2 separate regions of the Homo sapiens genome follow, and region 1 is linked to region 2. The links are contacts of gene promoters, found by promoter capture Hi-C in human tissues and cell types (Jung and others, 2019). All regions are on one chromosome and are shown on one strand. Each heading gives the region's core, a stretch centred on a gene start or on the middle of the fragment in contact. The rest is flanking DNA. Distances are from core to core; before and after follow the strand shown. Region 1 holds the start of LOC105375537 (a long non-coding RNA gene). Region 2 holds the start of SLC37A3 (solute carrier family 37 member 3).

Evidence for each region. The method cuts DNA at HindIII sites, captures the fragments that hold promoters and counts their contacts. A contact is called where the count stands out against the background at its distance.
Region 1: a fragment that was not itself captured here is called in contact with the fragment with the promoter of SLC37A3 in region 2 in 1 of the 25 tissues and cell types used here (H1 embryonic stem cells).

What each region holds. Positions count from the first base shown.
Region 1 is chr7:141,054,337-141,061,722 of GRCh38, reverse strand. It overlaps LOC105375537 (a long non-coding RNA gene), which reads right to left and starts at 4,843. Exons shown (of 3, transcript XR_928053.4): 1 at 4,751-4,843; 2 at 4,253-4,365. It overlaps LOC107986719 (a long non-coding RNA gene), which reads right to left. Exons shown (of 3, transcript XR_001744993.1): 3 at 7,123-7,162. RefSeq lists an enhancer at 3,665-4,166. The HindIII fragment of the contact is 6,069 bases long and covers 1-5,841 here.
Region 2 is chr7:140,397,280-140,404,691 of GRCh38, reverse strand. SLC37A3 (solute carrier family 37 member 3) reads left to right here and starts at 6,162. Exons shown (of 15, transcript NM_207113.3): 1 at 6,162-6,276. It overlaps RAB19 (RAB19, member RAS oncogene family), which reads right to left and starts at 634. Exons shown (of 4, transcript NM_001008749.3): 1 at 475-634. LOC124901759 (a long non-coding RNA gene) reads left to right here and starts at 224. Exons shown (of 2, transcript XR_007060561.1): 1 at 224-507; 2 at 1,870-3,109. RefSeq lists enhancers at 60-559, 560-1,061 and silencers at 6,015-6,244, 6,355-6,624. The HindIII fragment of the contact is 36,664 bases long and covers 1-7,412 here.

The sequences.
Region 1 (7,386 bases), core at 1,558-4,057, 660 kb before region 2:
TCAAACTAGTAGGAATAAAACAACACAACAGAAAAAAATGTGCAAAGTTTATAAAAAGACAATTTACAGAAGAAGAAATTGAGATGGAAAATTAACATACGAAAAAAACCTCACTAGTAATCTACAGAATGCAAATGTTTTTAAAATACTGTTGTTTACCCACCAGATGGGGAAAAAATCTACATGTCTGTTAATATCAAGTGTTGGCTGGGGCATAGAGAAACATGCTCTCATGCACTTCTGGTGGGAGCATGAGCTGATAGAGCCACTCTAGATGGCAATTAGGAGTCACTGTTAAGATGAAAAAGACATGTCTCTATGACCCAGCAGATATCCTTCTGTACTTGTCTGCCCATGTCATCACATAACTATCTCCTCTTGTGTATCTTCACATCACTCCTCTGTGCATCTCCATCTCCAAATTTCCCTCTTCTTATGGGGACAACAGTCATATTGCTATAGAGACCTACCCTACTCCAGTTTGACCTATCTTAATTATCTTAATTAATTACATCTACGATTATGCGATTTTTTTTTTTTTTTTTGAGACAGAGTCTTGCTCTGCCGCCAGGCTGGAGTGCTATGGCTCAATCTTGGCTCACTGCAAGCTCTACCTCCCAGGTTCAAGTGATTCTCCTGCCTCAGCCTCCCGAGTAGCTGGGACTACAGGCGCACACCACCACACCCAGCTAATTTTTGTATTTTTAGCACAGACAGGGTTTTACCATGTTGGCCAGGATGATCTCGATCTCTTCACCTCGTGATCCACCCACCTCGGCCTCCCAAAGTGCTGGGATTATAAGCGTGAGCCACTGCACCCTGCCATGATGACACTATTTCTAAAGAAGATCACATTCTGAGGAACTGAGGGTTAGGACTTCAACCCATAACTCTACTTTTCATACAGAAAAAAAAGGGAGCATAAGAAAATATACATGTATCTACTTATTTGTGCAAAATCAAAGGGTAAAAAGCCAAGTAGGCAACAGTAAGTTGATAGCAGGAAGCCACTAGCACCCTGGGTTAAAAGCAACATTGAGAGACCCCAGGGCAAGCATACAAATGAAGGTCCACATACCATAAGTCTCAATGTTTAAAATAAGTCAAATGACAAATTGTTAAATCAAAGTGTGTTCTATCCTTCTATATTACAAATACCTTTATGATGACAAAATTTTGAAATAAATACATGTAAAGTTATTTTAGTTTTTTTTCTTTTTAATAGAGACAGGGTCTCATTCTGTTACCCAGACTGGAGTGCAGCGGTGTACTCCACTGCAACCTCAAACTCCTGGATTCAATTGATCCTCCCATCTCAGCCTCCTGAGTAGATGGGACTACAGACGTGTGTCACCACACCTGGTTAATTTTCATATTTTTTTGGTAAAGATGAGGTTTCACCATGTTACCCAGGCTGGTCTCAAGCTCCTGGGCTCAAGTAATCCTCCTGCCTTGGCCTCCCAATGTACTAGGATTACAAGCATGAGCCACCATGCCCAGCAAGTTATGTTTCTTGCATAAATAAAAGTTGGCAAAATAGCATGTGCTGGTGAACCAGCAATGTTCAAATACATAGTAAAATAAAAGCATTTCATAATTCATAACTAATTATACATATTTTTTCTTATTTTTCTTGATGTTTACTCCAGAAAAATCATTAATCCTATTGCTATAATCAAGATTTTCACATAACTTCTGTTGATGGTAATGCCAAATGTTCTTAACAACTTTTTGATTCATTGTAATTTTTCGATCATTTTTTGTTTTGTTTCAAGACAGGGTCTCTCTCTGTAGCAGAGGCTGGATTGCAGTGGTGCCATCACAACTCACTGCAGCCTCGACCTCCCAGGCTTAAGAGATCCTCCCACCTCTGCCTCCTGAGAAGCTGAGACTACAGGTGCACGCCACCGCATTTGGCTAATTTTTATATTTTTAGTAGAGATGGGGTTTCACCATGGCTCCCAGGCTGGTCTCAAACTCTGGGCTTAAGCAATCTGTTCACCTTGGCCTCCCAAAGTGCTGGGATTGCAGGCATGAGCTACCATGCCCAGCCAGATAGGTTTTTTTAGCATTATTAATTTCAACTTGGACAAATTTCACTCTACTGAGGCAGTAACACTTTTATTGGAAGTATTGGTAAAATTTTTAAAGCATACTTATTTTGAAATTTTACGTTATTTTCAAGCACTGTAACAATCATCTATGAAAAGCTTATAGTGCAGAACAATATTATATTTTACTTTTATCATATAAATCATGATCGATCATATATACCTTTTTTTTACCATCTCTTAAAGTAATATCTAGATCCATATAACATTTCTTAAGTTCGTCTTTCAAATATTCCAATGCTAGGATAAAGGAGACCAAAAATCAAAACATACTGCTTAATTTATTAAAATCAGTCTTTAATCAAGACCATATCTTGATCTATAATGATTGGAAAATAGTTTTTATAGACATTACTTTGGGATAATGAATCTTCTCCTTTAAAGTCTTTCTTTTTTTTTTTTTTTTAGATTTGCCTAATCTGGATATTTCTTTTTTTTTATTTTATTATTATTATACTTTAAGTTTTAGGGTACATGTGCCTTGTTCAAGGGAAAGCCATTCTCATGCCTCAGCCTCCCAAGTAGCTGAGACAAAGGCATGCACCACCACACCTGACTAATTTAAAGTCATAAAGACATTTTCATTTTCTTGTTCTAATGTCCTAATATTTTATTATAATATCATTTTGATTTCACATGCAGTTCATTTCTATTTGGAGAAAAACATTTTCTTTAAAATTTAAACATATATTTTAAAAATTAAGTGAGAAATTGCCAAACTTAGATCTGAATTTTTACAGATCTAAGATTTTACAGATCTAATTTTTACAGATTTCTGTTTCTGTACATTTTTTTTTTTTTACTTTTTTTTTCAGTTTAATCCTTGGATTTCGTTTGGCTTATATGTTAAAAATCCTCAAAAGAAAGGAAACTAAGCCAGAAACCTTTTAAGGAGGACTCCCTTTCAGGACCTCCTACCTATTTTGTTTACATTATTAATAACAAGCAATAGTTCATATCAAAGAATTGTGGATAGCACAAATCCAAAATTGATTTCCTTTTCCACCAAAGACCACATTTTGCTCTATATGTGAGCATCATCTGTTGTTTCAGGTAGCTGGTACATCTTATATCTAGTATACCTTATGTATTTTATGTATTTTCTAAATAAAATTTAATGACTTTGGCAGCATTTTCTAGTCAGAATTTCCATCATATGTCTTCAAGTGGCTATAAGATCAAATTTAAATGTGCTTTGTCTGTGGATAAATTCAAGATATAGCACAAATACCTATAATCTTTTAATTTCTCCAAAGAATTTTACAACTATTGGCTCAAGCTGAGGCCACATCTCTTAGTAACACATTAAACTATGTACGATATGTGACATTAGCATGTTTCTGTATTTTAGGCCAAAATTCAGAATGGGTCGAGAAATATAGTTAAGAGCAACATGAATTGCTTAATATCGCAAAACAGTCCTCAGGTACCGTGTACAACTGTTGCAAAATATCATCCTAATTCCCGTGTAACTCCAGAACCACGAAGTGGAACACCAAAGGAAGACAGAAGATGGATACTTATGACTTCTGGGAAATTATACTTCCTTATTCAAAAATCTACTGAACACATGCTGTCTGGGAGAAAAGATTGACAAGTTAATCATTTTGTCCTCTTTTGTGTCTAAGTGCTTCTACCTTCAGATCCTCTCAGCACATCAAAGCAGAATCCACCCCCAACATCAGCAGCAACACAACCCAAAACACTTAATGGCACTCAGATGCAGTTGTCTTTTGTTTTGAGGATACAGGCCAAGAGGTATGTCAGAGCACTTTCCTGGGGCCCATTCTGTGTTAACCAGAAGAGCAGAAGTTTAGGGTCACAGCCCATGCTGTGCAGACCTGATGCAGGAACTCAAGACACAGAGGCAACCATGAATTCTTCAGTTCAGTTATTTGTGTGTGTTTGGAATATGCAGAGCCCTCTAACGTGGGGTTGGGAAGGGACCCTCTTGCTGGGGACTAAGGGCAGCCTAGCTGAAGAAACAAAAAAAGGAAGAAGTATTTCCTGAAACCTGGAACCAGGTTTGCCCAACAGAAGCTGGACCCATGGAGACACCTGTCTGGCCAGAGCTGGAGCCACGAAACAGATGCAGCTGTTGCTAGAGTTGCTACTTGTGGCAGAGAACAAGGGAGGAATACCTGGGCTTCTCCCTTTCTTCTATTCACCAATCTCTTGCCAGAACCTCCCAGGGCCTGCACTCAGCAGGAAGCCAGCTGACATGGGAACCTTGGGACACGCCGATTTCAGTCCACTGCAGTACAACAGAGCGGGGAAGGGCAAGGAACAGATGTTAAGGCAAACAGGACACGGTGAACTGGCACACAGTGAAACTTCAGAGACATTCCAATAAAATCAGGACCAAGATAAATATGCTGTCTCACATACGTATATATATGATGGTTTTTGAGATAGGGTCTCCCTCTGTCAGCCAGGCAGGAGTGCAGTGGCACACTTAACAGCTCACTGCAGCCTCCACCTCCTGGGCTCAAGCAAGGAGCCCAGAGCAATCCTCCCACCTCAGCCTCCCTAGTACCTGGGACTACAGGCATGCACCACCATGTCCAGCTAATTTTTTTGTATTTTTTTGTAGAGATGGGGTTTTGCCATGTTGCCCAGGCTGATCTCAAACTCCTCACCTCAAGTGATCTGTCCGCCTCAGCCTCCCAAAGTGCTGGGATTACAGGAGTGAGCCACTGCATCAGGCTACTATTTAATATATTAGAGGTCAAGAAAAGGGCAGGAAACAAAAATAAGTGTTATAACCATTGGAAAGGAGGATGCAAAACTATCACTATACACAGAAAATGACTGAAAATTCAAAAGAATAAACTAACAAGCTAGTAGCACTAATAAGAGAGTCGGATAAGATGGCTGAATATAAGAAAAATAAACAGATATCAATACTTTCCAACATAATAGCAATTAATTATCAGAAAATATATTGGAAAACTCTTCCATTCAAGATAACAAAAACTATAACACACTTATGAATAACAGTTACAAAGAAAGGAGAGGATATGAAGAAAACTACAAAACTTCATTGAGAGACACAAATGATATAAACAAAATGTAAAAACCTATCATGTTCTGGCCAGGCGCGGTGCTCACACCTGTAATCCCAGCACTTTGGGAGGCCGAGGCAGGCAGATCACCTGAGGTCAGGAGTTCAACACCAGCCTGACCAACATAGTGAAACCACATCTCTACTAAAAATACAAAAAAAATTAGCTGGGCGTGGTGGCGCCCACCTGTAACCCCAGCTACTCGGGAGCTGAGGCAAGAGAATCGCTTGAATCCAGGAGGCAGAGGCTGCAGTGAGCCGAGATCACACCACTGCACTCCAGCCTGGGCGACAGAGCAAGACTTTGTCTCAAAACAAAACAAAACAAAACAAAACCTACCATGTTCCTAAATGAAACAACTCAATACTATAAAAGTGCCGATGCTTTTCAAAGTCATTTATAGATTTAATACGGTGCCAATTGAAATCTCCATTTGTTTGATTTGGAACTTGAAAAAATAATTTTCAAGGTAATCTGAAAAAATATTCATGACAACAGCGAAAATATTATTATGGGATAATCTTTCATAAATATTAAAATATTTTTTAATCACAGTATTTTAAATAGTGTGATACCCACTTCTTAGACTCTGCATTCCCCATCCCAGAAGCCTCAGTATTTTTTTATAAATAAAAAGAACAAGACATGATTCATTAAAAATCATGAAAAACATGATTTGTAAGAAATTAGACCTGTAAGTGACTACAATTCCTCAAGATCTGGAAAAGTGAAAAGGAAATGGCAGCTGCCCAGCCAGGTTTTGACCTGAATGAGTGCACAGCGATGCCCCTCGGCCTATGCAATGCCTCAATGTTTTCCAATCGTTGAATTCTGGGCTGAGGAGGCATAGGTTATGTGGACAGCATCCCATTCTACTTCCAACCTGACTTCTGAGGCCGGATCCTGAAAGTCCTGATCACTTGCTACATTGTCTCCTATAGACTGAATTGTGTTCCCCAAAAATTCTTATATTGAAGCACTAATGCCCAATGTGATGGTATTCGGAGATGGGGTCTTTGAAGGTAATTGGATTTAGATGAGGTCATGAAGGTGGGGCCCTCATGATGGGATTAGTGCCCTTATAAGAAGAGGAAGAGACACCAGAGTTCTCTCTCTGCCACATGAAGACACAGTGAGAAGGCAGCTGTCTACAAGCCAGTATCTGAGCCCTCACCAGAAACTGACCATGCTGGCACCCTGATCTCGGACTCCCAGAACTGTGAAAAATAATTTCTGTCATTTACGCCACCTGGTCTATGGTATGTTCTTATAGTAGACTGAGTAGACTATGGCACCATTGCCCCCGTTTGAACCATAATGTGGAGGGTCTCCCTTACATCCTGCCCAATCAAGTGACATTTTTACATGTTGCAGGACAAGGTATTGACAGTTCTAGAGTGGGATAACTCTCAATTCCCCTTCTAGATATCCAGTATTTCCAGGGGAGGGGGATTTTCTACATATTACCAGGACTTCATTGTATCCTTTTCCTTTTTTATTTCCCCACATTGACAGCCATGGTTGCTGACCTCATTCATTCATTCTACACTTACTAGATGCAGGTACTCTTCTAGGTTCCTGGGAGACCTCCATGAATAACAAAGATCCCTGCCCTCCTGGAGCGTATATTCTACTATGGGAAACGGGTAAAAAGCAACTTAATAAAAAAAAAAATTTTTTTTTGAGACAGAGTCTCTCTCTGTTGCGCAGACTGGGGTGCAGTGGTGTGATCTCAGCTTACTGCCACCTCCGCCTCCTGGGTTAAAGTGATTCTCCTGCCTCAGCCTCCCAAGTATTTGGGATTATAGGTGCACACCACCATGCCCGGCTAATTTTTATATTTTGAGTAGAGATGGGTTTTACCATGTTGGCCAGGATGGTCTTGAACTCCTTATCTCAGATGATCTGCCTGCCTCAGCCTCTCAAAGAGCTTGGATTACAGGCATGAGCCACCGTGCCTGGCCATATTTTAAAAGATGATAAATGCTGTAGGAAAAAAAAAAGACCATAATGTAGGTGTTATGTAATGAATGTGTTCCACTGAAGTTTGTATGTTGATGCCATAATCTCCAGTGTGACTATATTTGGAGATAGGGTCTTCGGGAGGTAACTAAGGTTAGGGGGGTGGGGCCCTGACCTGATAGAACTGGTGACCTCATAAGAAAAGGAAGAGATCTCTCTCTTTCTTTCTCTCTCCACATGAGCACGGA
Region 2 (7,412 bases), core at 4,913-7,412:
GTGACATCCTTCTTCACCTCTCCGTTTTACTTTGGTTTTCTCTAAAGTCATAGACAAGGACACTCTGTCTCATCACACAAGGTAAAATGCACTCAAATGTCCAATCTGCATGCAAAAACCCAGGGCTTTAAGGCGATGAAGAAGGATCCCATACCTCTCTTGGACCTCTCTGAAATCACATATGGGTAGATGATCCAGCAGACAACAGACACAATCAAACCACTTTTTTCCTGTCTGACTTTTCAACTAAAGACAGCCATTCCACTTCCGGTGTCTTGGTCTTATCACTGTAACTTGAGCTGAGACTTTACTTCCATGTCTCCCCCCACCCTCAGGAGTCCTCAGGGTTTCCACTAAAGCCCCCTTTCATTGAGCCTACAAGCCTTGCTGGGAGGCACAGGCAGCGTCCACCCCGATGATGTCCTCCCGCCGGCATCCCGCAGCCTTCGCCTTCCTGGTTCACCTGTCGCTTACCTGTCTCGCTCTCTCACCTCTGCTGGTCAGCAGGTAATGTTTTCGCTTTCTTCTGGGTTTGCTTTTCAGCCCCCCAGTGCCCCCTTCTTCCTCCTGCCTCGCTGCTTGGTGGGAAGTGTAGTTCTGGCCCCAGGTGTCGGGTTTGGCGTCCTGAGAAAGTGAAAGGAAAGTGCAATCCCTCCCACCTGCCCTGAGTCCGGAGCTGCCTCAGGGTACAAAGCGCCAGGTGAGGGCGGCCAGCACAGGGCAGGGCGCAGAGCCGGCTTTCTCACCAGCCTTCGCCGGCCTAGCGGAAAGCCCTCACAGGAAGGAACAGCCAGTGAATTAAACCAGTGCTGGCCCATACGACACTGCCCCTGCTCCTTTCTTCTACTTTACCTTGTCTTGTGGGCTTTTGCGTCCTTTGCTCTCAATTTGTCCTGGTGTCCCTTGTTAGGAAACAATTTCAGAATGTATCTCATGTAGTAACAGCGACTGTTTTGCAAAATGTTTGGGTCAGTTGTACATGTGCATATTGTACTGGGTGATGTAAAAAAAAAATTTTTTTTTTTTTTTTGGAGACAAGGTCTCACTCTGTCACCCAGGCTGAAGTGCAGTGGCACCATTCATGGCTCACTGCAGCCTCAACCTCCCGGGCTCAAGCAATCCACCTGCCTCAGCCTCCTGAATATCTGGGACTACAGCTGGCCTGAGGGTTGTTAGTTGAGATAACACCAACTAAAGGAGGATATAGATCTTAAGTAATTTATTTTATTATATATACATATTTTTTAGAGACAGGGTCTTGCTCTATGGCTCAGGCTGGAGTGCAGAGGCATAATTATGGCTCACTGCAGCCACAACATCCCAGGCTCAAGGAAGCCTCCCACTTCAGCCTCCCAAGTAGCTGGGACTACAGTCATACACCACCATGCCCCACTATTTATTGTTTTTAGAGCTGGGATCTCCCTATGTTGCCCATGGTGGTTTGACACTCCTGGGTTTGGCCAGGCATGGTGGCTCATGCCTGTGATCCCAGCACTTTGGGAGGCTGAGGTGGGCAGATCACCTGAGGTCAGGAGTTCGAGACCAGCCTGGCCAACATGGCAAAACCCCATCTCTACTAAAAATACAAAAATTACCCGGGTCTGGTGGTGAGCCTATAATCCCAGCTACTCTGGCAGGAGAATCGCTTGAGCCTGCGAGGTGGAGGTTGCAGTGAGCCAAGGTCGCGCCACTGCACTCCAGCCTGGGTGACAGAGTGAGACTCCGTCTCAAAAAAAAAAAGAAAAAAAGAGAAGAAACTCCTGGGCTCAAGTGATCCTCCTGCCTTGGCTTCCCGAAGTGCTGGGATTACAAGGCATGAAACCACCGTACCTGGCCAGATTGTAAGTAATTTAAGTCTTTGTTTTGTAGATCTGAATATCTCTTTGTGAGGAGTCAGAGAAAGGAGATGATGCAAAGAGAAGGAAGCAAAAACAAAACTAAAAGAACTTTGAAGGTATATGAGAAGAAAAAGCTGAAAAGAAAATGTCTGCCTCACTCCCTCAAAAATTCTACCATAGAGCAAAGGTTGACGTCCAGAAAACCTCAAGTTTATCAGTCCCAGATGCTGGCAGTAGAAGCATAAAGCTGAGGTGAATTTTCCTTACTATTTTTTCCCCAGAGTCTAGAACAGTAACTGCCTCCCAATGTCTATCACAGGGACCAGATTTTCTCCACTACATAGGATGTGATATGTAGGCAGTTAAATGGCATTATAGACACAATAAGCAAAATTGAAACAGAGACACCCTGTTGGATAAAATATTTACATCGGTGTCCTGTTTCCAAACTGTGGGCTGAGACCTATAAATGAGTCATGAAATCAACCTTTGTGGGTTGCAACCAGCATTTTCACAAGAAGGGATTAAGAAACAACTTCAGAATGTATCTTGTGTAGTAACAGTGACTACTGTTTTGCAAAATGTTTGGGTCAGTTGTACACATGCATATTTTACAGGGTGATGTAAAAAAAAAATGTTTTTTTTGAGACAGGGTCTCACTTTGTCTCCCAGGCTGAAGTGCAGTGGCACCGTCATGGCTCACTGCGGCCTCAACCTCCTGGGCTCAAGCAATCTTCCTGCCTTAGCCTCCTGTATATCTGGGACTACAGGTGTGCACCATCATGCCCAGCTATTTATTTCATTTTTTTGTAGAGCCAGGGCCTCACTTTGTTACCCAGACTGGTCTCGAACTCCTGGGATCAAGCAATCCTCCCACATCAGCCTCCCAAGGTGCTGGGATAACAGGCGTGGGCCACCGTGCCTGGCCTGAAATGTCTTTTTAACTGTAGGCTGGGGTCCGCAACGTTTGAGAAGCACTGAAATACAGGGCAATTTATTCACTGTCCAAGAACATTACTTCTATGATGTCTTCAGATAAATTTGAAAATATTTGTCTTACCCAAAATTCCAGTTACATATCCATTTTCAGGATACTCTCTTCTGAGTGAGATAAACTCAACACTGGCAGGTATAGCAAGAAAACAAAAGACTCTGCCAAATATTGCTGCAGGGTGAGAACCACCAGCACAATGTGGAAATCCAGTGTAGGTAAAGATTCGCCCCAAATGTGTGATCAGGAAATAAAACCTGTTAGGTGTCAGTGTCATGAAGTTCAGTGTCCAAATGTTGTCTTTCTTCTGGTAATGGTTACTTTTTTTTTTTTTTTCCTGAGATAAGGTTTAGCTTTTGTCACTCAGGCTCGAGTGCAATGGTGCGATCTTGGCTCACTGCAACCTCCACCTCCCGGGTTCAAGCGATTCTCCTGCCTCAGCCTCCCGAGTAGTTGGGATTACAGGCACCCGCCACCACGTCCAGCTAATTTTTGTATTTTTAGTAGAGATGGGGTTTCACTATGTTGGCCAGGCTGGTCTGGAACTCCTGACCTCAGGTGATCCACTTGCCTCGGCCTTCCAAAGTGCTGGGATTATAGGGGTGAGCCACCGCACCTGGGGTGGTTACTGTTTAAAAAAAAAGTCACCTGACTCAGACCCACTGAGCACTTGGAGAACATCTACAGGTAGAAAACAAATGTTACAAATATTTAAATATCCTGATGGTTTTGGAAGTCAAGGGGAGAGAGATCTTACCTCTGTCTACCACCCAACCCTCTCCACCAAGGTCACTATAAATACAAAGAGCATAGCTTGGGCTACAGGAAAGAAGGCATTCATATGTATAAATGTGTGTGTATATATACACTGTTTTTTCTTTTTTAAGAGACTGGGTCTCCCTCTGTCACCCAGGCTGGAGCACAGTGGTACGATCATAGCTCACTGCAGCCTCCAAAGGTGCGGCTGAAGTGATCCTCCTACCTCAACCTCCCTAGTAGCTGGGATTAAAGATACACACCACCACATGGCTAAGAAGGCATTCTAGCCCTGAGTGGTGGTGACACAGGTTATATACTTGAAGTATACACACACACATATATATGTATACACCCATATGTAAATATAACACAAAAAACTATGTATTTCACTCTATGTATATATATTTACCATTTTAACCGTTTTTAAGTGTACAATTCAATGGCATTAAATACATTGTTGTGCAACCAACATCACCATCCATCTCCAGGACTTTTTTGGCATCCCAAACGGAAACTCCATAGCCATTAAACAACAATTTCTCATTTCCCCTTCCCTCCAGCCATGGGCAACCACCATGCTACTTTCTGACTCTATGAATTTCACTACTCTGGCTACCTCATATAAGTGGAACTGTACTGTACTGGTCCTTTTATGTCTGACTTATTTCACTTAGCATAATGTTTTTGAAGGTTCGTCTATGTTGTAGTATGTGTCAGAATTTGCTACCTTTTTTAGGCTGAAAAATAAACGATTCACAATATATTTTTAAAAATAAAAGTAACATATTTGGCTCATTTATTTTTGCTCACCCTGACATCATATTTCTCCTTGGATGCCTAGAGACAAAACTACCACTGTATAAGGGCTAGAAACAAAACTACCACTGTATAAGGGCAAATAAAAATGAAAAATAACAGGCTTAATTCCTCTGCTGAAAATAAAGAGACTTCTCAGCCTTCTCTCTGTTCCTTCAAAATTTCTTTCTCTGTCCTTTTCGAATGTACACAAATCTTTATAACGGCGAAATGAGCCTCTTGCCAGTATCACAACTCAGAAATGTATCCTCAAGGACTTGGGGGTCATCTTTTTGAAATTCAGACGTGAGTTAGTGCCTGTATCTTCCAGTTCCTACATGAGGGTAAGAGACTAAATTAGTGGGTATGGGCGCCTTGCTCCAATTTGTAAAACTACCTCCTGCTATAAAGATATGCGAACTTTGGCCGGCTGCGGTGGCTCACACCTGTAATGCTAGAACTTTGGGAGGCCAAGGAGGGCAGATCACGAGGTCAGGAGATCGAGACCATCCTGGCTAACACGGTGAAACCCCGTCTCTACTAAAAATACAAAAAAATTAGCCAGGCGTGGTGGCGGGCGCCTGTAGTCCCAGCTATTCGGGAGGCTGAGGCAGGAGAATCCCTTGAACCCGGGAGGCGGAGCTTGCAGTGAGCTGAGATCACGCCACTGCACTCCAGCCTGGGTAACAGAGCAAGACTCCGTCTCAAAAACAAAAAACAAACAAACAAAAAGATATGCGAAGTTTAAAAAACGAACAACAACAACAAAAAGTTATGCGAAGTTTGTTTTGCTTCTGGATAAAGCCAACATGAGTGGTCTCCCCAATTACTACTATTAAGTAAGGAGGAACTATGTTTGACAAAAGGTGTTGTCAAGTTCTGTTATTTGAAGACTAGTGATTGTTTATCTTGAGAACAGGTATGTAATGGTTGTTGTGGAGATTTTCTGGATTAAGAGAAGTTTTTTTTCTTTAAAATTCGAACAAGTGTCTGTATTTTTTCCCTTTATTTAAGAAACGGTGGCGGCGGTGGTGGTGGTGGATGGGGGGCGGCTCTCACTACCTTGCCCAGGCTGGTCTCAAACTCTTGTTCTCAAATGATGCTCCTACTTCGGCCTCCCAAAGTGTTAGGATTACAGGTGTGAGACACTTGTGTTGGATTTTTTTTTTTTGGAGGCAGGGTCTCGTTCTGTTGCCCAGGCTGGTGCAGTGGAGCAATCACAGCTGCCAGCCTCAAACTTTTGGGCTCAAGCGATCCTCGCACCTCGGTCGCCCCAGTAGCAGGGACCACAGGCACATGCCACTACTCCTGGCTAATTTTAACATTTTTTGTAGAGATGGGGTCTGGCTATGTTGCTAAGGCTGGTCTTGAACTACTGGGTTCAAGTGATCCTCCCTTCTCGACCTCCTAAAGTGTTGGATTACAGGCGTGAGCCCACTGTGCCCGGCCTGCATTTAATTAGACACCTAAAATTTAGGCCGGTCAGTAGCACACTTAGCAGCACGTTACTTTTTATAAAAACAAAGACCGAATACCGCTTTTTTGAAAAAAAAAAAAAAAAAAAAAAAAAAAGGATGCACCAGTTCTCCCCATATCATTTCTTCTCTCTACCTCTCGTCTTTTGCAGCTAACATTACTGGCCAGGTCCGCAGCAGCAGAGTTCTGTGGGCTCCCAGCCTCCGCCCTCCTCGCCCTCCTCCGCGCCGGCAGGTGAGGCCGCGTGGCGGGACTACAACTCCCAGCGTGCCCCGCGACGGGAGGGTCACGTGGGCGTCCGGAAACCCTGGTCGCACCGCCAGGGGTGAGCTGGCGGCGGGGGAGGCGGGCAGCGGAGCCAAGCTGACCCGGCGAGCGGAGCCGGGGCTGGAGAGCGGCGACCACTGCGGATCTCGGGTGCGCAAGCGGTGATGCGTGGGGCCGAAGACCTGCTGGGGCGGGGGCGGGTCCAATCCGAGGGGCTTCCCGGGTCGGGAGGGCGGTGGGGAGATGTAGGTGGCGGCCCCCCTTGGGTGGGGCGCCCAGGCAGGGTCGGCCGCTCGCCCCCTCCTTCTCCTCCCTGGGCCCGGGCCTGGGGTCCCGGCCGTCACGGGGAGGCTGCGATGGGGTGGATGGGGAGGAGAAGGACCCCCGGGGGACCCTGCGGCCCGGCCCCGATCCATGCGGCAGAGGCTTTTGTGCTCCTCGCCCGCCTGTCCTCCGGCCGTGGGTCTGGGAGATTCTGACTTGATCAGAAAAGGGCTTGTCGTTCGGACCAGGGGAGAGGGGATGCTTTTCAGGTAGGTGGGGAAGGAAGCTCTTTGGAAAGGATGTATAGAGGTCAGAGAAGAAGCGTGGTCTCAGTGAGTGACTGGTTTTGTTTTCTGGTAACTAGCATGAACTCAGTCAAGGAATTTGGTCAAATTATTCGTCATTCCCTCCTTATTCTTCGCAGGGTGTGTTCTGTTTATTCTCAGTTTTGACAGGAGATAATGGGAATGTGTCCCCGGAGTTTTTAGTGTTTTTTTGAAATGTAAGATGGTAGGCTATCTCGTGGTAACTCTTACTGAAAAGTTTATAGTTTATAGGGAGGAGTGGTTCCTGGGGTGAGCAAAATCATTCAGTTGTTATCTTTTTGTCCACCGGTTTATTTCTACCTTTACACAAATTTATACATACATAAATATATATAACAGTTGTTGAAGGGAATGTCTTCAGTGCTTTGGTGCTTAAATGATTTCTTTTCAGTTTGTTTGATGTTTCTTGGATACTAGGCTCTATACTAAGAACTCCATATAAATTATCTCATTTAATTAATACATGAGGAAATTGAGCTTCGGGTTGGGCGCGGTGTCTCATGCCTGTAATCCCAGCACTTTGGGAGGCCGAGGCCTGTGGATTCCTTGAGGTCAGGAGTTCAAGACCAGCCTGGCCAACATGGTGAAACCCCGTCTCTACTAAAAATACAAAGATTAGCTGGGCGTCGTGGCGCATGCCTGTAATCCCAGCTACTCGGGAGGCTGAGGCAGGAGAATCGCTTGAACCTGGGAGGC